Linked DNA regions of Homo sapiens: regions 2, 3 and 4 are each linked to region 1. Evidence: promoter capture Hi-C in 16 types of primary human blood cells and fetal thymus (Javierre and others, 2016). All regions are on one chromosome and are shown on one strand. Each heading gives the region's core, a stretch centred on a gene start or on the middle of the fragment in contact. The rest is flanking DNA. Distances are from core to core; before and after follow the strand shown.

What was found. The method cuts DNA at HindIII sites, captures the fragments that hold promoters and counts their contacts. A CHiCAGO score of 5 or more calls a contact.
Region 2: a fragment that was not itself captured here is called in contact with the fragment with the promoter of ZNRF1 in region 1 in 1 of 17 cell types (M1 macrophages); the score reaches 5.5 in M1 macrophages.
Region 3: a contact is called between a fragment that was not itself captured here and the fragment with the promoter of ZNRF1 in region 1, in 1 of 17 cell types (fetal thymus). The highest score is 5.2, in fetal thymus.
Region 4: a fragment that was not itself captured here is called in contact with the fragment with the promoter of ZNRF1 in region 1 in 2 of 17 cell types (M1 macrophages and M0 macrophages); the score reaches 6.0 in M1 macrophages.

The regions. Positions count from the first base shown.
Region 1 is chr16:74,997,774-75,004,024 of GRCh38, forward strand. It overlaps ZNRF1 (zinc and ring finger 1), which reads left to right and starts at 1,251. Exons shown (of 5, transcript NM_032268.5): 1 at 1,251-2,322. The coding sequence starts at 1,899. RefSeq lists silencers at 1,043-1,562, 1,963-2,272 and an enhancer at 3,063-3,122. The HindIII fragment of the contact is 6,289 bases long and covers 1-5,345 here.
Region 2 is chr16:74,799,956-74,806,206 of GRCh38, forward strand. No RefSeq gene overlaps it. Among named protein-coding and RNA genes, the nearest start is that of FA2H, 28 kb to the left of the region's middle. The HindIII fragment of the contact is 752 bases long and covers 2,133-2,884 here.
Region 3 is chr16:74,815,165-74,821,415 of GRCh38, forward strand. No RefSeq gene overlaps it. Among named protein-coding and RNA genes, the nearest start is that of FA2H, 43 kb to the left of the region's middle. The HindIII fragment of the contact is 2,719 bases long and covers 2,009-4,727 here.
Region 4 is chr16:75,181,505-75,187,755 of GRCh38, forward strand. No RefSeq gene overlaps it. Among named protein-coding and RNA genes, the nearest start is that of CTRB2, 23 kb to the right of the region's middle. The HindIII fragment of the contact is 4,375 bases long and covers 245-4,619 here.

The sequences.
Region 1 (6,251 bases), core at 1-2,500:
AGCCTGGGAGGAGCAAGGCTCCGTCTCAAAAAAAAAAAAAAAGAAAAGAAAAAAAAGAAAAAGAAAAACAGGGCGGGCGCGGTGGCTCATGCCTGTAATCCTAACACTTTGGGAGGCCAAGGCAGGTGGATTACCTGAGGTCAGGAGTTCAAGACCAGCCTGGCCAATACGGTGAAACCCCGCCTCTACTAAAAATACAAAAAATTAGCCAGGTGCAGTGTGGCATGTGCCTGTAATCCCAGCTACTCGGGAGGCTGAGGCAGGAGAATCACTTGAATCCGGGAGGCGGAGGTTGCGGTGAGCCGAGGTTACGCCACACCACTCCAGCCTGGGTGACAGGGCGAGATTACGTCTCAAAAACAAAAACAAAACAAAACAAAAAAAACAGTTGTTCAATAAATGAATGTGAATATAGGAGAAAGACGGCTTGAGGTAGCAAAGGAACACTCCCTTGCAAATGATTCAGGCTTGGTCAACAATACACCTATTGAGTACCCACCGTGTCCTTGGCCCGTGGTGAGGGCCGAAACACAGCACATGGTAAACAAAACAGGGCTCCAGCCTTGGACAGAAGGTTTCTATAATCACTTCTAGCTGCGTTGTTCTATTTCCATACCCATATCTATTCACTTTTTATGGTACATCTATTGATTCTGAAAATTACATTTTAGCTAAGGAATCTACTCATTTGCTTAAGCCCAAAATAGGAAGTTATGATCTAGTGTCAGCAAAACGCCGGATTCACAAGTGTCCCCATGGCGCTGTTTACCCCCAAATAACTAAACCCCGCCAAATGTTGAGATTCCGGACGTGAGGGGTGCTTGGATGGGGAACCCCCGAAAGAATGGACATCACGTCCACCAGAGGGTGCTGTGGGGGCAAATTTGTGCCAGGAGGGGAGCTCGACCGGTGACCCTCAGAGCCAGGTAGGCGTAAGGAGTAAATCTCCTTCTTCCCGGTGTTTCCTTCCCACCCCCTCGAACCATTGCTGCCCCTCCCCCATACTTGGTTCCCCCTGAATAATTTGCCACTTTCGGGGACTTAAGAAGTGTTTGCTTTTGAAAGACATCTGGTTTCTGTGGCTAACGCCCAGTGGTCAGGCCGCCCAGGTCACAGGCCGGCCGGGGGCGGGCGGTGGGTGGGGACTGCTGGGGCGTCAGCGGCCCAGGCGCCGCAGGGACCGCGAAAGGGTTAACCCGGCGGGGGGAGGGGGAGGGGGCGCGGGCCGCGCCTGCGCTCTGCCGCCCTCCATTGTCTCCACGGCGGCGAGGAGCGCCGGCGAGCGCAGCCCGGGACCGAGCGGGGCGGCGCGGCTGGCGGGGCCGGCGGCGGCTGAAGCGAGAGCGCGACGCGACGCGACCGCGGCTTCCCGAGCTGCGCCTGGCCGCCCAGCGCCGCGGCCCGCCCGAGGCCTGGAGGGGTCCGGGCCGCCGTCCATGGTCGCGGCGTCCTGAGGCGGGGGACGCGCCCGGCGCCCCCGGCCCTCCTCCGCCTCCTCCCGCGGGGCGGGCGGCCTCCTCCGGCGCCTCCCCGCGCCCGCCCGCCGCTCGCCGCCGCCTCCCTCCCTCCTTCCCTGCGGCTCCCCCGGCTTTCGGAGCCCGGGGGCGGCCTGTGGCGCGCGGAGCCCGCGCCGGACTGCGCCTCTTTGGACCTTGAGGGGAAACATGCGTTTGCCTTGGATCGTTTGAAATTCTGAGTTTGGGATCCCCGCCCGCCCGCCTGCCTCTTCCGCCCCGCGGGTTTTTTCCTTTTTTCCTTTTGCTTTTTTTCCTTTTCTCCCTCCGGGTCTCCTTTTTGACTCCCTCCCCCTTTATGCTCGCCCAGCCCTCCCCCTGCTGCTGAGAAGTGGGGGAGGGTCTCGGCCTCCAGGTTCCCGCCCCACCGGGGCCCGGGCGAGCATGGGGGGCAAGCAGAGCACGGCGGCCCGCTCCCGGGGCCCCTTCCCGGGGGTCTCCACCGATGACAGCGCCGTGCCGCCGCCGGGAGGGGCGCCCCATTTCGGGCACTACCGGACGGGCGGCGGGGCCATGGGGCTGCGCAGCCGCTCGGTCAGCTCGGTGGCAGGCATGGGCATGGACCCCAGCACGGCCGGGGGGGTGCCCTTTGGCCTCTACACCCCCGCCTCCCGGGGCACCGGCGACTCCGAGAGGGCGCCCGGCGGCGGAGGGTCTGCGTCCGACTCCACCTATGCCCATGGCAATGGTTACCAGGAGACGGGCGGCGGTCACCATAGAGACGGGATGCTGTACCTGGGCTCCCGAGCCTCGCTGGCGGATGCTCTACCTCTGCACATCGCACCCAGGTGGTTCAGCTCGCATAGTGGTGAGTCCGCGGGTGGTGGAGGCCTCGGAGGGAGGGCGCGCCGGGGCGCCCCAAGCCTTCGCGTGCGTGCCAAGGTTTGGGAATGTAGTGCACGACCGGGATCTGTCTGCATTCCCTTTGGTTCCCGATGCCAAGGGATAAATGGGATACCTACCGTCTGGAAACTAGGCTTTCTGCGAGGCTGCGGAGCCTGGCGATTTAGGGACTCACGGCGTGTGTTCACTTGTGGAAGGGCAGAGCGAAGCCTACCTATTGGAGTTCCATTTATTGGCATCACCCTCCTCAGAGAAGAGGTCGTGTCTGGCTGAGAGCAAGTCAGCCTGGGTACTTCCATTCTGCCACTGCAGCACTGTGCCTGCCTCACCGGTAACGGAGAGATGGAGCCAGTTGGAGCAAGCAGTGTCTCCTAAACAGAGTGTGTGAAAATGAAATAAAATCAGGGGCAAGTGATGCCTGGATTAGGGCTCTCACTCTTGCTGGGAGAGAGAGGTGCCCAGTTTTGCCACCCTGCTGGAGATCTGTTTGAAATGTTTAAAATGGAGCAGCCGGCAGGCGGCTGGCATAGACAGGTGTGGCTGCTGTACGGAGGGCCCAGCCGGCGAGTCTCGCGGGGGCTTTGCAGGACCCGGGCTGTGGTCACCCGTACTGCATGCAGCAGGCTTGGCTCCGCGACTCTCGCCTCCCTCCATCTTTTTTTCTTCTGCTCCATGCTAAGTGCTTGGTCTTCCCGTGAATCTGCATCTTTTTGTAACAGGGAGCCTGTCACGGTGGGGCATTATTGCCTGGCTGTTGGCACATGACTGGGGAAAAGGAGGATTCAGAGAATCTGGATGAATTCATTTTATGAACTTCTGGTGACAGGCCAGCAAAAGGTTGGAGGGGGATTTCCCAGGCTCCTAGCGGGAGGGCAAAAAAGGCCTGGCAGGAGGAAAACAGGTCTGTCTGCTAGGTCAGGCATCTAGAAAATTGGCCAAAAGGGATGTGGGGGCCGCTATTTGCTAATTGGCAAGTTGAGTGATGAAGTTACATCTTAAGATTCTTTTGGGTGAGTTGGGAAAATTTAGATAGTGTAGGGGAAAGATTGCTCCTGCCTTTAGGGTACTTTATGGAGGGTAATATCTGTTGGATCACTCTTTTAACTACTGTGAAATAGGGTTGACTTTTGGGGTATCTCTTTCCCCCCCCCTGCAAATAGCCTGGGGTTTGTTTTCATTTGGTTTGGTTTTTTGTCAATTCTGTAAACTTTAATTTGTGAAATAGTGTTGGGGGAGAAACGATTAGTGACTAATTTAGGGTAACACTTAGAAGTAGCTTGTGAATTGTTAGGATGATATTTTAATCTCTGACAGACCTCCGGATATCATTGGAGCTTTTCTGACCTCATGGAACTCTGCCCTGAGTGAGAAGCAGGACATGATTGCCTTTGGCTCTTTCAGGCATTTGATCAAAATTAGGCATTTTGAAATTAATAATTTTTCCTATGGAATTTAGTCCAGAGAGTTAGCCATATTTTTGAGATGACTAGTTTGGTGTTTAAAAGAACTGTAATGAGCATCTGGTTTTGAACTTAAAAGTACTGTAAGAAGTTTCTCTAAAATCACAGAATTTTTTGTGTTGAAAAACATATGAGATATGTAGGGAGGAAGAAAGGGAGTGCTTTTTTTGCTAAAATTTCTTAAGCCTCTTACTAAAAATTTATTTATTATGCTACTACCAGGTTCCATGCTACAGTTATGAGCTTGTAGTTGGATTCCAGAATTTCACTCTTAAGCTGTGAAACCTTATTTTTTTTCATCCGATCATGGTGAGGGTAGGGAGAGCCACTGAACTGTGGGGACAGGAAGGTTGGAGCATATTAATCCTTTAGGGAAGGGTGTCAAAAGTGTGTATGGGAGGCTGCTATTAATATTGTAGGTAATCCATTCCTTACTGTGTAGGACCATCATGTCCTTCTGCAAGACATCGAGCATACCTACTAAATGCTGATAGCATCCAGCAGTTCAGTGTGTCACCCCAAAATGTCCCCAAGAATTCCCAAATGCCCTCTGGGGTGTGGGTGGTATCACTCTGGTTGAGAACCACTGCTTTAGGGATTTATTCTTTTATTCACATAAAGTAATTGGCTTTTCCTGTGCATTTCATTTGAGATGAATCTTCGTGTGCAGCATTGGTTCCATCTCACCTGAAACAGACCATGGGATCTTCCAGGACATCTGTTTCCTCTGTTACACATTGCTGCAAGAAGCAAAACTTGTTTCTGCTTTGGAGCCTTTGAGTAAGGTCTAAGCAGCTTTTGCTCTTCTGTTGCAAGATTGGAAGGGTAACGATTTTGGTGCACAATTAATTAGATGCCTGGAAGTTGATATGATATGTTTGCTTGTGTTTTCAAGGTGCTCTTGCAACTCTTCATGGGCACAGAAAACAGTTGTCAGTGAAATACATGAGGGAGTTCAGTGTATACAAGGCCTTCTCAGAGAGCGTGGGCTTAGGCTGGGTCTGGAGGTAGAATACTGAAGGGCCCTGGTCCCAGCTACTCCTCTGAGCAGCTGTGACCTTGGGCAAGACATATCCCCTCTCTTGAGCCTTATCTTTGTCGTTTTTAAAATAGTTGTGGTCACCCTCACGAGCTCCAGCCTTGCTCCGCAAATCCCGGGAGAGGAAGCGCTGTAGTCACATTTGTCTTCTCTAGGTTCCTGACTTCCCTGTGCTGTGACCCCCACGTATACCATTCCCTAATCCTAGAGTGCTTTTCTCTCCGTTCTTCACACGAATTTCTCTTTCTGATCCCTTAGGGCTTAGAGACCACTCTTAAAAATTGGCCCCTCCGGTTATTCTCTCCAGTCACTCACCTGTTACCTTAATCATTCTTTTTTTTGAGACAGAGTTTCGCTCTTGTTGCCCAGGCTGGAGTGCAGTGGTGCGACCTCTGCTCACTGCAGTCTCCGCCTCCCGGGTTCAAGCAATTCTCCTGCCTCAGCCTCCCGAGTAGCTGGGATTACTGGCATGCGCCACCATGCCCAATAAGCTTGGGGCTAATTTTGTTTTTTGTAGAGACGGGATTTCTCCATGTTTATCAGGCTGGTCTCAAACTCCCGACCTCAGGTGATCTGCCTGACCCGGCCTCCCAAAGTGATAGGATTACAGGCGTGAGCCACTGCGCCCTGCACCTTAATCATTCTTAACACACTTTGTAAGTATTTTATCTGTTTACTTTTTTCTGTGTATGGTTTGCCTAAAGTCTAAGCTCCGTGAGAGCAGGACTGTGTTCCTTGATCTCTGTTGTGGGTCCTGCACTGTGCCTGCCACTCACATTTTTTGAGTACATGAATTTGAGTACTTTATGTTCATCATCTCACTTAATCATCACTCTGACTCTATGGAGTAAGACTGTTCTCTCCCACCCCCATTGTGCAGGTAAGGAAACAGGTTTGGGGAGGTTAAGGAACTCACACAAGATCAGGTGGTTAGTAGGTGGTGGAGATGGGATTGGAATGCAGGTTGGCTGGTGCCAGAACCTGGGCTCTTAACCAGTACCCTCTTCCGCCTCTTATCTGAAAACATCACAAAGCCGCATGGTGTCCTGGAGATTGCGCTGGCCTACGAGTCAGAGTGCTAGGCTCATCTCCTGGTTAGGCAGCTGATTAGCTGCATGATTTGTGACCTTGGGCAAGCGAGTCATTTAACCTCAGTCACAATTTATTCATCTGTAAAATGTAGAAGACGCCTGTCCTGCTTACCTCTCAGAGTCATAGTGAGGGTCTCATGAGATAATGTGCACAAAAGTCAAAGGACATTCTAAATGGAGAGTGGTGGAGTTCCTATGGGGGCACTCTCTTATAGTTGTCTGCCTTCAATCGCCTCAGATTTTTTTTTTTTTTCTTTTGAGACAGGGTCTTATTCTGTCACCCAGGCTGGAGTGCAGTGGCGAG
Region 2 (6,251 bases), core at 1,259-3,758, 200 kb before region 1:
GGGGGACGGTCAGGTCTTTCCCTTCCCACGAGGCCATATTTCAGACTATCACATGGGGAGAAACCTTGGACAATACCTGGCTTTCCTAGGCAGAGGTCCCTGCGGCCTTCCGCAGTTTTTGTGTCCCTGGGTACTTGAGATTAGGGAGTGGTGATGACTCTTAAGGAGCATGCTGCCTTCAAGCATCTGTTTAACAAAGCACATCCTGCACCGCCCTTAATCCATTCAACTCTGAGTTGACACAGCACATGTTTCAGAGAGCACGGGGTTGGGGGTAAGGTTATAGATTAACAGAATCTCAAGGCAGAAGAATTTTTCTTAGTGCATAACAAAATGGAGTCTCCTATGTCTACTTCTTTCTACACAGACACAGTAACAATCTGATCTCTCTTGCTTTTCCCCACAGTTAAGTATACTCACCTTGTGCAACCATCACTGCCATCCATCTCCAGAACCTTTTCATCTTATAAAATTAAAACTTTATACACAATAAACACTTATGTTTTTCTTCTTCCCTCAGCCCCTGGCAACTGCCATTCTATTTTCCGTTTCTATAAATTTGGCTACTTTAGATGCCTCATATATGTGGAATCATACAGTATTTGTCTTTATTTATCTGGATTATTTCAGTAAGCATAATGTTTTCATGGTACATTCATGTTACAGTGTACATGAAAATTTCATTCCATTTTATGGCTGCATAATATTCCATTGTATGGATATACCACATTTTATTTTTGATGAACATTTGGGTTGTTCTCTCCTTTTGGCTATTGTGAACAATGTTACTATGAATTTCAGTGTAAACAATCCTAAATTTTTATATCCATAATAGCAGAAATTCAAAATACAGGAAGGAAAAGTTGACAGAACTGCAAGGAGAACAAATTCATAATTTGTTCATAATTCAAAAACCAATTCATAATTATAGCAAGAGACTTCAGCACCTCTGTCTCTCAATGATTGATACATTATGTAAACAAAATCAGTAAAGGTATAGAAGACTTGAACAATGTTATAAAAACAACTTGAACTAATTGACATTTATGGAACACTCTATCACACAGCAGCAAAATACGTTTTTTTAAAGTTTGCGTGAAACTTTTATCAAGATAGACCATATTCTGGTCCATAAAGCAAGTTCAGTCAATGTATAAGGACTTAAGTCATGCAAAGTATGTTCTCTGACCACAATGGAATTAAATGAGAACTCACTATCAGAAAAATATCTGAAAATACCCTAATATTTAGAAACTAAATATGCTTCTAAATAACTGATGGGAAAAAAAAGAACTCAAAAGGGAAACTAGAAAGTATTTTGCATTGAATGAAAAAGAAAGTATAACTCATAAAAATGTGCTAGATGCAATTAAAGCAGAACTTTCAAGTTTATAGCACCAAACACCAAACATCAAACACCAAACACCTGCACTGGAAAACATGAAAGTTCTCAAATCAATGACCTCAGGTTTAGGAAAGTAGAAACAGAAGAGCAAATTAAACTCGAAGAAAATAGAAGAAAAGAAATATTAAAGATTAAGGCAGAAATCAATGAAGTAGCAAACAAAATTTAAAACAGAGACAATGAAACCAAAGTTAGTACTTTGGGAAGATCAATAAAATTGGGAAATCTCTAGCCAGACCAATAAGGAAGAAAAGAGAAAAGACATAAATTACCAATATCAAGAATGAGAGAGGTGGCTGGGTGCTGTGGCTCACATCTGTAATCCCAGCACTTTGGGAGGCTGAAGTGGGCAGATCACTTGAGGTCAGGAGTTCAAGACCAGCCTGGCCAACATGGTGAAACCTCGTCTCTACCAAAAAATACAGAAATTAGCTGGGCGTGGTGGCATATGGCTGTAGTCCCAGCTACTCGGGAGGCTCAGGAAGGAGAATCGCTTGAACCCAGGATGTGGAGGTTGCAGTGAGCCAAGATCACACTACTGCACTCCAGCCTGGGTGACAGAATGAGACTCCATCTCAACAAAAAAAAGAAAAAAAGGGAGAGGAGAGATCAATAGAATCCGTCATTGTTAAAACATTAGTAAGGGTATATCACAAACAGATTTTTCTCCAATAAATTTGACAATGAGATAAAGTAGACTAATTGTTTGGAAGACACAAACTACCAAAGCTTATTCAAGAAGATATAGATCACCTAAACAGCCCTATAACTGTTAACAAAATTGAATTTATAGTTTAACATGTACACACAAAAGAAATTTTAGATGGCTTCACTGGTTAATTCTATGGAATATTGGCTTCACTGGTAGTTTTACCAAATTTTTTTCAATATCTCTCATAAGGAGAAATACCAAATATGTAAGGAAGAAATAATACCAATTCTACACAAACTCTTCCAAGATTCGAAGAAGTAGCAATACATTCCAACTCATACTTTGAAGTCAACATTACTCTTATACAAAACCAGAAAAAAAAAAAAACATTTTAAAAGGCTAGGCATGGTGGCTCATGCCTGTAATTCCAGTGTTTTGGGAAGCCAAGGTGGGAGGGTCTCTTGAGGCCAGGGGTTTGAGACCAGCCTGGGCAATATAGTGAGACCCTGACTCTATAACAAGTAAAAAAATTAGACAGCTGTGGTGGCACATACCTGGTGTCCCAGCTACTTAGGAGGCTGAGGCAGGAGGATCAATTGAACCCAGGAATTTGAGATTATAGTGAACTGTGATCATGCCACTGCACTCTAGCCTGGGTGACAGAGCAAGACTTTGTCTCTGAAACAAAGCAAAACAAAAAACATTACAAGGAAGTAAAACTATGGACCAACTCATCAACATTATTGCAGAAATTCTTAACAAAACTTATGCAAGTAAAATACAACAATATTTTCAAGAGATAATACATCATGAATTTCAGGAATTCAAGCTTGGTTTAACATTAGAAATTTAATAATATTCACCATATTAACAAACTAAAAAATGTAAAACCATGCAATCCTCTCAATAAGTACAGAAAAAGCATTTGACAAAATCCAGTCAAATCCATTTCCATCATCCAATCATATCTAGTTATCAAAGGAGGAATGGAAGGGAACATCTTCAACCCAATAAAAGATATCTACAAAAATCCAATAGCTAATATCAAATGTAATGGTAAATGATTGAATATATTCCCCCTAATTTCAGGCAGAATGCAAGGATTTCACTCTTACCACTTTTATTCAACATTATACTAAACGTTATATTCAATGCAATGGGCAACAAAAAGAAGTAAAAGACACTCAGATTGGAGAGAAAGAAGTCAAATTGTCTTTATTGGGAGATGACATGACTCAGTCTTTCATGATTAAGTATGATATTAGCTGTGGGATATCTGTAGAAGTCCTTTATTAGGTTGAAGAAATGCTCTTTTAATCCTAGTTTGTCAAATGGTTTTATCATGAATGGTATTGAATTTTGTTAAATGCTCATTTTGCATCTACTGAGTATGTGTTTTTTTCTTTATCCTATTGATATGATATAGTATTCATTTTCAAATGTTAAATGAACTTTACATTCCTAGGATTAATCCCATTTGGTTGTGTTGTATAACCCTTTTTAAATGCTGCTGGATTTGGTTTGCTAGTATTTCATTGAGGTTTTTGTTTATAAGTTCATAAGAGATATTGGTCTATAATTTTCTTTTCTTGTGATGCCTTTGGTATCAGAGTGGTACTGGCATCATAATGAATTAGAAAGTGTTACCTCCTTCCCTATTTTTTTGATGAATTGCAAATAATTGGTATAAATTCTCTAATTGTTTGGCAGAGTTCACCAGTGAATCTGAGCCTAGGCATTTCTTTGTGGATAGTTTTCAAAATTACTAATTCAGTACCTTTATCTATTGTAGGTCTATTCAGATCTTCTATTCCTTCTTGAGTTAGTTTTGATACTTTGTGTTTTTCTGGGAATGTATCCATTTTATATATGTTATCTAATTTGTTGGCATACAGTTATTCTTAGCATTTCCTAATAGTCCTTTTATTTTATTTCTGTAAGGTTGTAGTAATGCTCTCTCTTTATTACTGATTTTTGTAATTTGAGTTCTCTATCTGTCTCCCTCCCTCCCTCTTCAGTCTAGCTAAAGATTTTTGTAATTTGAGTTCTCTGTCTCCTTCCCTCTCTCTTCAGCCTAGCTAAAGATTTGTCCATTTTGTTGATCTTTTCTAAGAACCGACTCTTGGTTTTGTTGATTTTCTCTACGGTTTTTTATTCTCTATTTCATTACTTTCTACCTTAATCTTTATTATTTTCTTCCTCTGCTTGTTTTGGGTTTAGCTTACTCTTCTTTTTGTAGTTTCTTAAGGTGTAAATTTAGGTTATTGGTTTGACATCTTTCTTCTTTTTAAATATAGGTATTTATAGCTATGAATTTCCCTCTAAGCACTGTCTTCACTATATCCCATAAGTTTTGAGATGTTGTGTCTTCATTTTCATTCATTTCAAAATATTTTCAAAACACTATGTACCCCATAATATGTACAATTGTTGTATGTCAATTAAAAAGAAAAGAAAAAGATACTAATTTCCCTTGTCATTTCTTAATTGGCCCACTTGTTATTTAAAAGTGTGCTGTTCAGCTGGTGCAGTGGCTCACACCTGTGATCACAGCACTCTGGGAGGCTGAGGCAGGAGGATCACCTGAGGTCAGGAGTTTGAGACCAGCCTGGCCAACATGGTGAAACACCGTCTCTACTAAAAACTACAAAAATTAGCCTGGTGTGGTGGCGGGTGCCTGTAATCCCAGCTACTTGGGAGGCTGAGGGAGGAGAATCGCTTGAACCTGGGAGGCAGAGGTTGCAGTGAGCCAAGATCGCGCCACTGCACTCCAGCCTGGGCAACAGAGGGAAACTCTGACTCACACACACAAAAAAAGTGTGCTGTTCAATATCCACATATTTATGAAGTTCTCAATGTACTTTTTGTTGTTAATTTCTTTCTTTCTTTCTTTTCCCTTCCCTTCCTGTCCCTCCCTTCCCCCTCCCCTGTCCCTCCCCTCCTTCTCCCCTCCCCTCCACTCTCCTCTCCTGCCCTTTCCTTTTGAGATAGGGTCTTGCTCTGCTACCCAGGCTGGAGTGCAATGGCATGACCATGGCTTACTGCAGCTTCAACCTCCTGGGCTCAAATGATCCTCCCACCTCAGCCTCCTGAGTTGCTGGGACTACAAGCACATGCCACCACCCCAGGCTAATTTTTAAAATTTTTGTAGAGATGGGGTCTCACTATGTTGCCCTGGCTAATCTTGAACTCCTGGGCTCAAGTGGTCCTCCCACCTCAGCCTCCCAAAGTGCTGGGATTACAGATGTGATCCACTGCACTGTTAATTTCTAATTTTACTCCATTGTGATTAGAGAACATACTTTGTATAATTTCAATCCTTTGAGAAATTACTGAAATTCTTTTTATGACCTAACATATGATCTGTACTGGAGAATGTCCCATGTGTACTTGAGACGAATGTATATTCTGCTGTTGTTAAGTGGAGTGTTCCAGGTATGCGTCAGGTCTAGTTGGTTTATAGTATTATTCAAGCCTTCTGTTTTCTTGTTGATCTGCCTAGTTGTTATATCTTTTGTTGAAAGTGAGGCATTGAAGGCTCCAACTATTATTGTCGAATTATCTACTTATCTCTTTAATTTTTTAAAGTTTTTGCTTTATATGTTTTGGACCTCTCTTATTAGGTGCATATTTATTTGACTGACTAATAAAATTGTATATATTTATCATGTACAACATGTTTTGAAATATGTATACATTATTGAATCACTGAGTCAAGCTAATTAACATATGTATTACTCACATACTTATTTTTGTGGTGAGAACATTAAAATCTACTCTCTCAGCAATTTTAAAGGATACAATACATTGTTGTTAACCATAATCACCATGTTGTACAACAGAGCTCTTGAATTTATTTCTTCTATTGAACTGTAATTGTATACCCTTTGACTAACATTTCCCCAACTGTTCCCCTACCCTAGCACTTGGTAACAGTCATTCTACTCTTAATTCTATGAGCTCAACTTTTTTAGATTCCACATATAAGTGAGATCGTTTAGTGTTTGTCTTTCTGTGCCTGGCTTATTTCAATGAAATAAGTCCTATTTCATTGGACTTTTCATAGTGTCCTCCAAATTCATCCATGTTGTTACAAATGACAATATTTCCTTCTTTTTAAGGCTGAATAGTATTCCAATATGTATAAGTACCACATTTTCATTATCCATTTATCTGTTGATGGACAATTAGGTT
Region 3 (6,251 bases), core at 2,118-4,617, 180 kb before region 1:
TCATGAATGGGTTAATGGATTAATGAGGATTCTGCTCTCATGAATGCATTCATGTTGTCACCATCAGGGGAGTGAGTACTCATGGGAATGCCTTTGTTATCAAAGTGAGCTCTCTCTTGCACATGCTTCGTTTTGCCCTCTTGCCATGTGGTGCCCTCTGCCATGTTAGGATGAAGGTAAAAGGCCCTCACCAGATGCTGGCACCACGTCCTTGGAATTCCCAGCCTGCAGAATTGTGAGCTAAATAAACTTCTTTTGTTTATAGATTACCCAGTCTGTGGTATTCTGTTACAGCAACAGAAAATGGACTAAAAGAGGGTTTTGAGCAGAGGAGGAACGAAATCTGACTTAGTTTTAATCAAGGTGATCACATGTTCTGGTTTGCCAGGGCCAGTACTGGCTTACTCCTGTTATCCATTGTAATTATCAATAGCATTTCTTTTTGCCTCAAAGGAGTCAATTATGGTTGCTTTAACAGCATGGCCTGGCTACTGTACTGAGAATGGACTGGAGGGGGCAAACATGGGAAGAGGGAGACTAGTCAGGATGCCATGGCAAATGATCCACACAAGAGACAACAGCAGCTTTGACCAGGGTGGCCGCAGTGGAAGTGGTGAGAAATGGAGAGAGTGCCAGAATTTAGCTTTTGTGATGTGAATTCAAGACGTCGATTAGACTTCGAAGTAGTAGCCATTGGCCAAGAGGCAGATGCTGATTGTCCGTGATGAGCCCCTGGTTCCTGTGCTCTGTCCCTTCTGCCTGTTACTACCTGGCTGCCACACACTTGTTGAGGATGCAGTTGGATGTAGGGGAGAAATGATGCTACAATCTGGAGATGATGGGGACAGACCTGGCTGTCCTACCCAGAGCCTGGACCAGAGACTCTCATGTCTAATAGAGACCCAGCTCCAGGGAGCTGTACTCTCCCATCATTTTCCTGTCCCAAGCAGAAGCCCAGGGTTTAGAGCGAACAGTATGTGGGGCAAGTTGTGTTCATAGTTCAATATGCAAATGTTCTCTATAGCCTTTTGCTAGGATTTCACACACCATATATCCAGGATCAGATACATAATTTGCAGGGCCCAGTGCAAAATCAAATTGCAGGACCTTTTCTTCAAAAATGATTAAGAATTTCAAGATGGGGACAACAGAGCATTAAACCAACCACAGGGACCTGTGTGATTTACACAGGTCACACATCCACAAGCTCAGCCCTGCCTATAACTGAAAGATGTTTCAAAATCACTTCTGGAGCTTAGGAGCGAAGTTCCTGTTGTCTGTGAGAAAGAAGAGGACATAATCCTAGATTAACAGAATCTTAAATGACAATTTCCACTTCTACCACCTGAATTGGAAATACTTATTTGTCTGGTGGACACCCTGATGAAAGTGGATATTATAAGAAAAGACTGCCAGAGCCTTCCAGGTGATCTTGAAATCTGGGTCAAGCAGTATTCCCGGATAGGATGCCTACAGAAACCCTGGGGCAATGCATGAGGAAACTGCTGGAAGGAGAAAGTTCTTTGTGGCAACCCAGGGACAAACCAAGAGAAGTAACCGGGTGATGTGCCAGGTAGTAGTGTTGCAGCAATGAACAAAGTGCCAGCAGCCCCCACACTGAGCTAACCCAGTCTGATATGGTGACCACAAATAAGTCCTGTGAGGCCTGAGGGTGGGAGGAGATGAACAGTGACATAAGTGTGCAGAAATGAGGACAAGACAGGGTCCTGCCACAGGCGAAGGGGTGGGGTTTTAGGGATGCTGCCTAGGAAGGGACTGGAGGGACAAGATGAGTTTGGGGGTCTTGTAGAGGATTTGATGCTGAAAATAACTCTTTAGAGATAGTAATCCTTTCAGATGCTTCCCACAGTCCACATGGGATTCTGTCTCCCAGCCAGTCAAATCTGGCCTGACCCTCTCCATTTTTTCCTTATGATCTTTGCCCTAGTCTCTCCCATTTGATCTGAGGTCCTCCAGAAGCCATCCATGGCCCCACTGAGCCCCAGGAAGCTTTGAATTGTTTAGTAAGCATATCAATCATGGTCCATTCAGGAAAACAGCAACCACAATAGTTATCTTAGCAGAGAGAATTTAACAGAGAGAATTAACAAATACTGGAGGAAAGGACAAAAGACAGACATTGTAACTTCAGGAAGTAACTCCCACCCCAAGGACTGGGAGAACAAGGGGGAGAGGTGGGTTTATTAGAACCTAGGAATAGATAGGGGAGTCTAGGGGGAAACCTCAGCTCAGGCTTCCGAGGAGAGGGCACTGCCAGGCGGGTGCTGGTGCCTTAGAAGGTGGATGGATGGTCCTGAGAGCCAGGACCCAGATCCTTATGGAGTGGGCACTGCCTGGCTGCTGCTGCTTTCTCTGATGGGGGTGATGAAGCTGGCTTGGGGAGCATAAAAAGTGTCACTCTCAGAGGGCCAGGCACAATGGCTCATGCCTCTAATCCCAGCACTGTTGGAGGCCGAGGCGGGTGGGTTGCTTGAGTCCAGGAGTTCAAGACCAGCCTGGGCAACATGGCAAAACCCTGTCTCTACAAAAAAACAAAAACAAAAATTAGCCAGGCGTGGTAGATTGGGCCTGTGATCCCAGCTACTTGGGAGGCTGAGGTGGGAGGATCGCTTGAGTCTGGGAGGTGGCTATAACCGACACAGTGCCACTGCACTCCAGCCTGGGCGACAGAGCCAGACGCTGACTCAAAAAAAAAAAAAAAAAAAAAAAAAAGTGTCACTCTCAGGGTAAAGAACAGATGCTGTGGTGACGTTGGCGGGAATGGAGAGCAGAACAGGATGAAGCTGCTGCCTTCTCCCATCTTCCAGCATTTCAGTCTCCCTCTAGTGCCACTTAGTGGTGCTTGGGCTCTGCCGAGAACCCAAGGTGGAGCCGCTGAGGGCAGAAACGTGGATTCCAGAGTCCCTTGATCTTGATCTGAATGTGCCCCATGCCCCTAGCTGAGTGCACATCTTCTTGTCCTCTCTGATAGCCAGGGCCACACAGCCGCTAGTTCCTTATCCCCCACCCCAAGAACTCCAAGCATTACTGCCTGCCCTGCTTCCAGAAGTAGCACACCCAAGAAATTCAAGCGAGAGCCCCTATCTCTAACAGACCCTGCTCCGTCCCTATTTTGGAGCACTGAGAGTTTTTCTATTCCTCCCCCTGTTCCTTCTAAACCAAAAAAGTTCATGGTCTTGTTGAAAAGCCCATTTCCCTAAGAAACCTCCTCTACTCTATATACACACATTGGTCCTGACTTCATAGTCTAGTAACCTCAAGATGAAGTTTCCCCTTCATCTTTTTTTAAATTAATACATAATAATCCTATTTATGAGGTACATAGTGATGTTTCAAACATATAATACGTGGTGATCAGATTAGGATAATTCCATATTCCACATATCCATCATCTCAAGCATTTATCTTTTATTAGTGTTGTGAATATTCAATATCCTCCTGGCTATTTGAAACTACGTGTTCTTGTTAACTATAGTCATCTTACAGTGGTTTATTCAGAGAACTGATGAACTTTCCCTCCTATCTAGCTGTAATTTTGTATCCTTTAACAAAGGTCTCCTTTTGCCACCCTTTCCCCACCCTTCCCAGCCTCTAGTAGAAAGTTTTACTTTCAACTTCCATGAGATCAACTTTTTTTTAGCTTCCACATGAGTGAGAAAATGCAGTGTTTAACTTTCTATCCCTGGCTTGTTTCACTTAACGTAATGTCCTCCAGTTCCATCCATGTTGCCACGAATGACAGGATTTCATTCTTTTTATGGCTGAATAACATTTCATTGTGTACATACCACATTTTCTTTATCCATTAATCTGTTGATGGACACCTAGGTTGATTCCATATCTTGGCTATTGTGAATAGTATTGCAGTAACCATGGGGATGCAGATCTCCTTGATAGACCGATTTCCTTTCCTTTGGATAAATGTCCAGTAGTGGGATTGCTGGATCTTATGGTAGCTCTACTTGTGGTTTTTTGAGGAGCCTCCATACTGGTCTCCATAGTGGCTTTACTGGTTTACATTTTTTTTTTTTTTTTTGGAGATGGAGTCTCGTTCTGTCACCCAGGCTGGAGTGCAGTGGTATGATCTCAGCTCACTGCAACCTCCACCTCCCAGGTTCAAGCGATTCTCCGGCCTCAGCCTCCCGAGTAGCTGGGATTACAGGAGCTTGCCACCAGGCCTAATTTTTTATATTTTTAGTAGAGATGGGGTTTCACCATGTTGGCCAGGCTGGTCTTGAACGCCTGACCTCAGGAGATCTGCCCGCTTCGGCCTCCCAAAGTGCTGGGATTACAGGCATGAGCCACTGTGCCCGGGCTTACTGGTTTACATTTTCACCAGCAGTGTATAAGAGTTCCCTTTTCCCCACATCCTTGCCAGCATTTGTTTTTTGTCTTTTTGATAACAGCCATTCTAGCTGGGGTGAGATGATACTCCACTGTGGCTTTGATTTGCATTTCCCGGATGATTAGTTACATGGAGCATTTTTTCCATCTATTTGTTGGCCCATTTGTATGTCTTCTTTTGAGAAATATCTGTTCAAATCACCATTTTAAAATCAGATTTGTTTTTTGTTTTTTTGCTGTTGAGATGTTTAAATTCCTTGTATATTCTGAATATGAATCTCCTGTCAGATGAATAGTTTGCAAATATCTTCTCCCATTCTGTAGGTTGTCTTTTCACTCTATTGTTTCCTTTGCTATGCAGAAGCTTTTTAGTTTGATGTAATCCCATTTGTTTATTTTTGCTTTTGTTGCCTGTGTTTTTGAGGTCTTATTCATAAAATATTTCCGCAGACTAATGTCCTAAAGCATTTCCCCTATGTTTTCTTCTAGTAGTTTTATATTTTGGGTCTTACCTTTAGTTCTTTGATCCACTCTGAGTTGATTTTTGTATAGCATGAGAGATGAGTGTCTAGCTTTGTTCTTCTGCATATGGATACCCAGTTTTCCTGGCACTATTTATTGAAGAGATTGTCCTTTCCCCAGTGAGTGATCTTGGCACCTTTGTCAAAAATCAGTTGGCTATAGATACATGGATTAATTTTTGCATTCCCTGTTCCACTAGTTTGTGTCTATTGTGCTGTTTTGGTTACTATAGCTTTGTAGTATGTTTTGAAGTCTGGTAGTGTGATACCTCCAGCTTTGTTCCTTTTGCTCAGGATTGCTTTGGCTATTTGGGGTCTTTTGTGATTCCATACAAATTTTAGGATTTTCTTTTCTATTTCATTGAAGAATGTCTTTGGTATTTTAATAAGAATGGCACTGAATCTGTAGATTGCTTTGAGTGGTATGGTCATTCTAACAATATTGATTCTTCCATCTATGAGCATGGGAGGTCTTTCTGCCTGTTTTTATCCTCTTCAATTTCTTTCATCAGTGTTTTGTAGTTTCCCTTGTAGATGTCTTTCACCCCCTCGGTTAAATTTATTCGTAAATATTTTAATTTTTGTAGCTACTGTAAATGGGATTGACTTCTTGATTTATTTTTCAGGTAGTTTGTTGTTTGTGTATAGAAACACTACTGGTTTTTGTGTGTTGATTTTTGTATCCTGCAGCTTTAGAGAATTTATTTATTAGTTCTAAGCGTCTTTTGGTAGAGTCTTTAAGTTTTTCTATATATAAGATTACGTTGTCTGCCAACAGGGACAATTTGACTTTATCCTTTCCAATCTGGATGCCCTTTATTTCATTCTCTTGCCTAATTGCTCTGAATCCTCTTCATCTTGATAAGGTATCTCCAAGATAATTTCTCTCTACCTTAGAGATAAGGAAAATGTGACATGAGAACAGCCAGATGAATATTTGTCCAAAGAGTAGTCTGATTCTCATGCAGCCTTGGGGAGAAGCCATAGACAGGACTGAGGTGCCATGCTGTCTTTCCCAAAGTGTGACGGTAGCAGACCTGGTGCCCTGCCCGTATTTTCTTTCCTGGGCTGGTACACCTTGCCCTCTAGCTCCTGGGTGTTGCCACTGCTCACACCTACCTCTTTCTCTTGCTCTTGGTGGATAGAGCGCCTTGTCTGGAGATGCCTTGAAGGTTATGCACCATCTTCAGGGCGCAGCCTGTGGCCAATGACTAATGGAGGTGGGTATGTAACAGCCCAGCCCCCTTATCTTGGCAGGGGTACAGGGGCAACCTCTGTAGTAGAGTTTATTATACTCCAGTGGTCCCTGTGGGGTTGGGCTAAGGCTAAACTTAGCTTGAACTTGCATCTTTGCTTGGCTTATTC
Region 4 (6,251 bases), core at 1,182-3,681, 180 kb after region 1:
AATCTACAGGTTCAATGCAATGCCTATCAAAATTCCAATTATATTTTCCACAGAGATAGAAAAAACAATCCTAAAACTTGTATGTAACCACAAAAGACCCCAAATACCCAAAGCAGTCTTGAACAAAAAGAACAAAGCTTGAGGCTTCATACTAACTGTATCAGTGCATTCTCACACTGCTATAAAGAACTACCTGACACTGGGCAATTTATGAAAAAAAGTTTAATTGACTCACAGTTCCACAAGCTTAACAAGAAGCATGACTGGGAGGCCTCAGGAAACTTATACTCATGGTGGAAGGCAAAGGGGAAGCAAGCAGCTTCTTCACATGGTAACCGGAGAGCATGCTAGCAAAGGGGGAAGTGCCACACACTTGTAAACCGTTAGATCTCATGAGAACTCACTATCAGGAAAGCAGCAAGGGAGAAATCCACCCCCATGATCCAATCACCTCCCACCAGGCCCCTCCTCCAATTCGACATGACATTTGGGTGGGGACACAAATCCAAACCATATCACTAGTTGAATTCAAAATACACTACAAAGGTATAGTAACCAAACAGCATATTAGCATCAAAACAGACACATAGACCCACGGAATAGAACAGAGCTCCCAGAAATAAATCCACGCATTTACAGTCAACTGATTCTTGACAAAAGGTGCCAAGAACACATAATGGGCAAAGGACAATCTCTTCAGTAAATGCTGGACGTTCACATATAAAATAACGAAATACAGAAAAATAAACTAAAGACTTAAATGTAAGACCTGAAACTGTAAAACGACTAGAAGAAAGCAGGGATCCATGACATCGATCTGGTCAATTTTTTTTTTTTAATCTGACTTCAAAAGCACAGGCAACAAAAGCAACAACAGACAAATGAGATTACATCCAACTAAAAAGCTCCTGCACAGAAAAGGAAACAATCAAAAGAGTGAAAAGACAACCTTTAGAATGGGGAGAATTATTTGCAAATCATAGTCTGATAAGGGATATCTAAAATATAAGGAACTCAGACAACTCAATAGCAAGAAAACAAATAACCCAATTAAAGAGCAAAGGACCTAAATAGACACTTCTCAAAAAGAAGACTTACATATGCCTGACAGGTATATGAAAAAATGCTCAGTGTCATTAATTATCAGGGAAACGCAGATTAAAACTACAATGAGGTATCACCTCACACCTTGTTAGAATGGCTATTAGCAAAACAGTGAATAAATATGGACCAAGTGCGGTGGCTCATGCCTATAATCCCAGTACTTTGGGAGGCCGAGGCGGGTGGATCACCTGAGGTCAGGAATTCGAGACCAGCCTGGCTAACATCGTGAAACCCCGTTTCCACTAAAAATAGAAAACATTAGCCGGGCGTGGTGCCCTGCACCTCCTGTAATCCCAGCTCTTGGGAGGCTGAGGCAGGAGAATTGCTTGAACCCGGGAGGCAGAGGTTACAATGAGCCAAGATCACAGGATCGCACTCCAGCTTGGACAACAAGAGCGAAACTCCGTCTCCAAAAAAAAAAGTGTGTGTGAGGATGTGGAGAAAAAGGAAGTCTCACAAAGTTGATGAGAATGTAAATTAGTACAGCCATTATGGAAAATACTATGGAAGCTCCTCAATAACTTAAATAGAACTACCATGTGACCCAGCAATTCCACTACTGGGTATATATCCAAAGGAAACGAAATTAGTCTGTCAAAGAGATATCTGCACTTTCATGTTCATTGCAGCATTATTCACAACAGCCAAGATATGAAATCAACCTAACTATCAATGGATGAATGGATAAAGAAGATGTGTTCTACATACACAATGGAATACTACTGAGCTTTAAAGAAGGAAGCTCTGGCCAGGTGCAGTGGCTCATGCCAGTAACCACAGCACTTTGGGAGGCTGAGTCGGGTAGATTGCTGGAGTCCAGGAGTTCAAGACCAGCCTGGCCAACATGACAAAACCCTTTCTCTAAAAATACAAAACAAAAATTAGCCAGGCATGGTGGCACATGCCTGTAGTCCTAGCTACTTGGGAGGCTGAGGCAGCAAGATCATTAGAGCTTTGGATACAAAGGTTGCAGCAAGCCAATATTGCACCATTATACTCCAGCCTGAGTGACAGAGCAAGACCCTGTCTCAAAAAATAAAGGAACTTATTTGCCACAACATGGGTGAACCTAGAGGACTTTATGCTAAGTGAAATAAGCCTGGCATGGAAAGACAAATACCACATGACCTCACTTATATGTGGAATCTAAAAAAGTTGAACTCATAGAAGCAGAGAACAGAATAGTGATTACCAGGGGCTAGGGGTGTGGGAGGGGATAAGAGAAATGTTGGTGAAAAGATACACAATTTCAGTTTAATAGGAGGAATAAATTTAATCTATTGGCCAGGCGCCGTGGCTCAAGCCTGTAATCCCAGCACTTTGGGAGGCCGAGGCGGGCGGATCACGAGGTCAGGAGATTGTGACCATCCTGGCTAACACGGTGAAACCCCGTCTCTACTAAAAATGCAAAAACAAAAATTAGCCGGGCGTGGTGGTGGGCGCCTGTAGTCCCAGCTACTCAGGAGGCTGAGGCAGGAGAATGGCGTGAATCCAGGAGGCAGAGCTTGCACTGAGCCATGATCGTGCCGCTGCACTCCAGCCTGGGCGAGAGAGCAAGACTTTGTCTCAAAAAAAAAAAAAAAAGAGAGATCTATTAAGAGAGGAGGTCTCACTATGTTGCCCAGGCTGGTCTCAAACTCCTGGGCTCAAGCAATTCTCCCACGTCAGCATCCTAAGTAGCTGGGACTACAGGCTGTATCACTGTGCCTGACTGTAATATATTCCGGAAAAATCAATGAGTAGATTTTAAATATTCACACCACAAAAATACATGTAATACATATGTAAATTAGTCTGATTTAGTCATTCTGCAATGTATACATTTGTAAACATCATGTTAGATACAATAAACATACTTTTTTTTTTTTTTTTTTTTTTTTTTTAAGACAGTCTTGCCCTGTCACCCTGGCTGGTGTGCAGTGGTGCAATCTCGGCTCACAGCAACCTCCACCTCCCAGGTTCAAGCAATTCTCCTGCCTCGGCCTCCCAAGTAGCTGGAACTACAAGCGTGCTCCACCATGCTTGGCTAATTTTTGTATTTTTAGTAAAGATGGAATTTTGCCTTGTTGGCCAATCAGGTGATCCACCCACATTGGCCTTCCAAAGTGCTGGGATTACAGGCAATGAGGCACCACACCTGGCCCCAATAAACACAATTTTATAAGTCAGTTTTTAAAAGTTAATGAAAAACAAATCTAAAGAACTTGAGGGGATAAAGGAGTGTGAAAAGTGGTAGACTGAAAAGACTATGTTTCCATGGGGTAGGATTGTTAGGGTACTAGAGAAAATCTGGTTGAGTGAGGAATGCATGAAACATTACAAACAGGTTGCTATTACTAGTAGCAAGATTAATGTGTCCGAGAATAACTGGCTGAAGGAGGGAGGAGTACAGGCTCATTGGAAAAGTGGAGATGAAGAAACTGAAAAGCCAAGTATTAAATCTACATAAGCATTAAAATTATCAATTCAGATGGTAGTGTTAGAGTGGGAACTAAAATTTAAGAGATCCAGGGATCAGAAGATGACTGCTTTAAGTATCACGTGGTACGGTCTGATGGCCTGAGCATCCATGCCATGGGGTGTCAGAGAAGATGAAAGGAGAATGGTCTGGAAGCAGCGAGAAGGACATCTTCCCACCCCCAGGACCAGTGTTAAAGGGTGAAGTAGAAAAGTATAGGGAATGTTCATTAATACATAGGAAATTCTGGCCGGGCACGGTGGCTCACGCCTATAATCCTAACACTTTGGAAGGCCGAGGCTGGTCCATCAGTTGAGGTCAGGAGTTCGATACCAGCCTGGCCAACACAGTGAAACTCTGTCTCTACTAAAAAAAAATACAAAAATTAGTCAGGAGTGGTGGTGCATGCTTATAGCCTCAGCTACTGGGGAGGCTGAGGCAGGAGAATCACTAGAACCTGGGAGGCGGAGGCTGCAATGAGCCGAGATTGCACCACCGCACTCCAGCCTAGGGGACAGAGCAAGACTCCATCTCTCTCTCTCTTTTTTTTTTTTTTTTTTTTTTTTAGACAGAGTCTTGCTCTGTCCCCTAGGCTGGAGTGCAGTGGTACAATTTCGGCTCATTGCAACCTCCGCCTCCCGGGTTCAAGCGATTCTTCTGCCTCAGCCTCCCAAGTAGCTGGAACTACAGGCATGCACCACCACGTCCGGCTAATTTTTGTATTTTTAGTAGAGACGGGGTTTCACCATGTTGTTCAGTCTGTTCTTGAACTCCTGACCTCGTGATCCACCCGCCTCAGCCTCTCAAAGTGCTGGGATTACAGGCATGAGCCACCACGCCCAGCCCAAGACTCCATCTCAAAGAAAAAAAGACATAGGGAATTCTGCCCTAACCTCTGTGGTGAGTTCCAGAGGGCACAGAGGAAGATCTCTAGAAGTTGGGGAGAAGCAAGAGATGGACTCAGAAAGGGATGTAAGTGGAGGAAGTTTAGAGTGGGATCAGGCAGGGGGTGACCCAGGAATCCTGAGCCTCTTATAACTGAGCCAATAAGGACAAAAGCTTTAATGAGATCAGACCTGATAGTCTCAGAAAATGGTGGAGAAGCTGGAGTCTTGGGAGGAGGAAAGGGTAGGCATCTTGCCAAGAGCACCCAGAGTTCTGGGCCCTTCTTCACTCCTGCTAATAGAAATGAGGAAGCCTGGGGAGGTGGGTCTGACTTGGAGCACTTGAGGCTCCTTCTTGATCCTTGCCACGAGGTCATATGAGGAATATTTGAATACCATATGGTTCCTTACATACGGTAGATACCATAGAGCTCCTAAGAGTGAAAGTAGTCAGACTAATTGTGTTGACCTGGAAAAATGTTTGATAGAGTTTTAAAAGCAAGTTGCCAAAAATGTATGTATACACACACAGACAGTTGGCTTTCTGTATCCATGGATTCTGCATCTGAGGATTCAGCCAACCTTGGGTTGAATATTCAGGGAACAAAGAAAAAAATGGATGGTTGCATGTGTATTGAACACACATAGACCTTTTGTCATTATTCCCTAAATATAATGACTATAGAGCATTTAAATTGTATTAGGTATTGTAAGCAGTAGGGATGATTTAAGGTATACTAGAGGGTGTGCATAGATCACAAATACTATACCATTTTATATCAGGGACTTTAGCTTTTGGATTTTGGTATCTGCAGGAGGTCCTGGAACCAGTTCCTCATGGATTATCAAGGGACACATACACATAAATACACATACACACGGAGGGGGAGAAATGAGATGGAGGAAGGAAGATGTGACAACATACAATTGGCTAATCTAGATGAAGAGTGTATGGGTGTTCATTATACAGTCTGTTCTATACAAAATTCTAATTTTCTAATTTTGAATGAAAGAATGTTACAAGATATTATGTATAGCATTTTTTATAGAATATGTATATACATATGGAAGTATGTTATAAACTTAGACAAAAACCAGGAAGTATAACTGCCTGACATGTTCTCCTTGCCCACTGCCCAGATAGAGCCAATTTATCAAGACAGGGCAATTGTAATAGAGAAAGAGTTTAATTCATGCAGAACTGGCTGACCAAGACCGGAGTTTTATTACTCAAATCAGTCTCCCTGAAAATTCGGAGACTCGGGTTTTTTAAGGATAATTTGGTGGGTAGGGGGTCAGGGAGTGGGGTGTGCTGATTGGTTGGGTCTAGAGATGAAATAAGGGGTCAGCCGGGGGCGGTGGCTCACGCCTGTAATCCCAGCACTTTGGGAGGCCAAGGCGGGTGGATCACCTGAGGTCAGGAGTTTGACACCAGCCTGGTCAACATGGTAAAACCCTATCTCTACAAAAACACAAAAATTACCCGGGTGTGGTGGCTTGCACCTTAATCCCAGCTACTCAGGAGGCTGAGGCACGAGAATCGCCTGAACCCAGGAGGTGGAGGGAACAGTGAGCCAGGATCATGCCACTGAACTCCAGCCTGGGCAATAAGAGTGAAACTCCAGCCCGGGCAATAAAAGTGAAACTCCATCTCAAAAAATAAATAAAGAAGAGGTCAAAGTGGGTTCTTGCCATCTTCTGTTCCTTGGTGGGATCACAGAACTTATTGAATGACATGACCAGATTACCATTCTGGGTGGCACTAGCTGGTACATCAGAATGCAGGGTCTGAAAGATATGTGAGC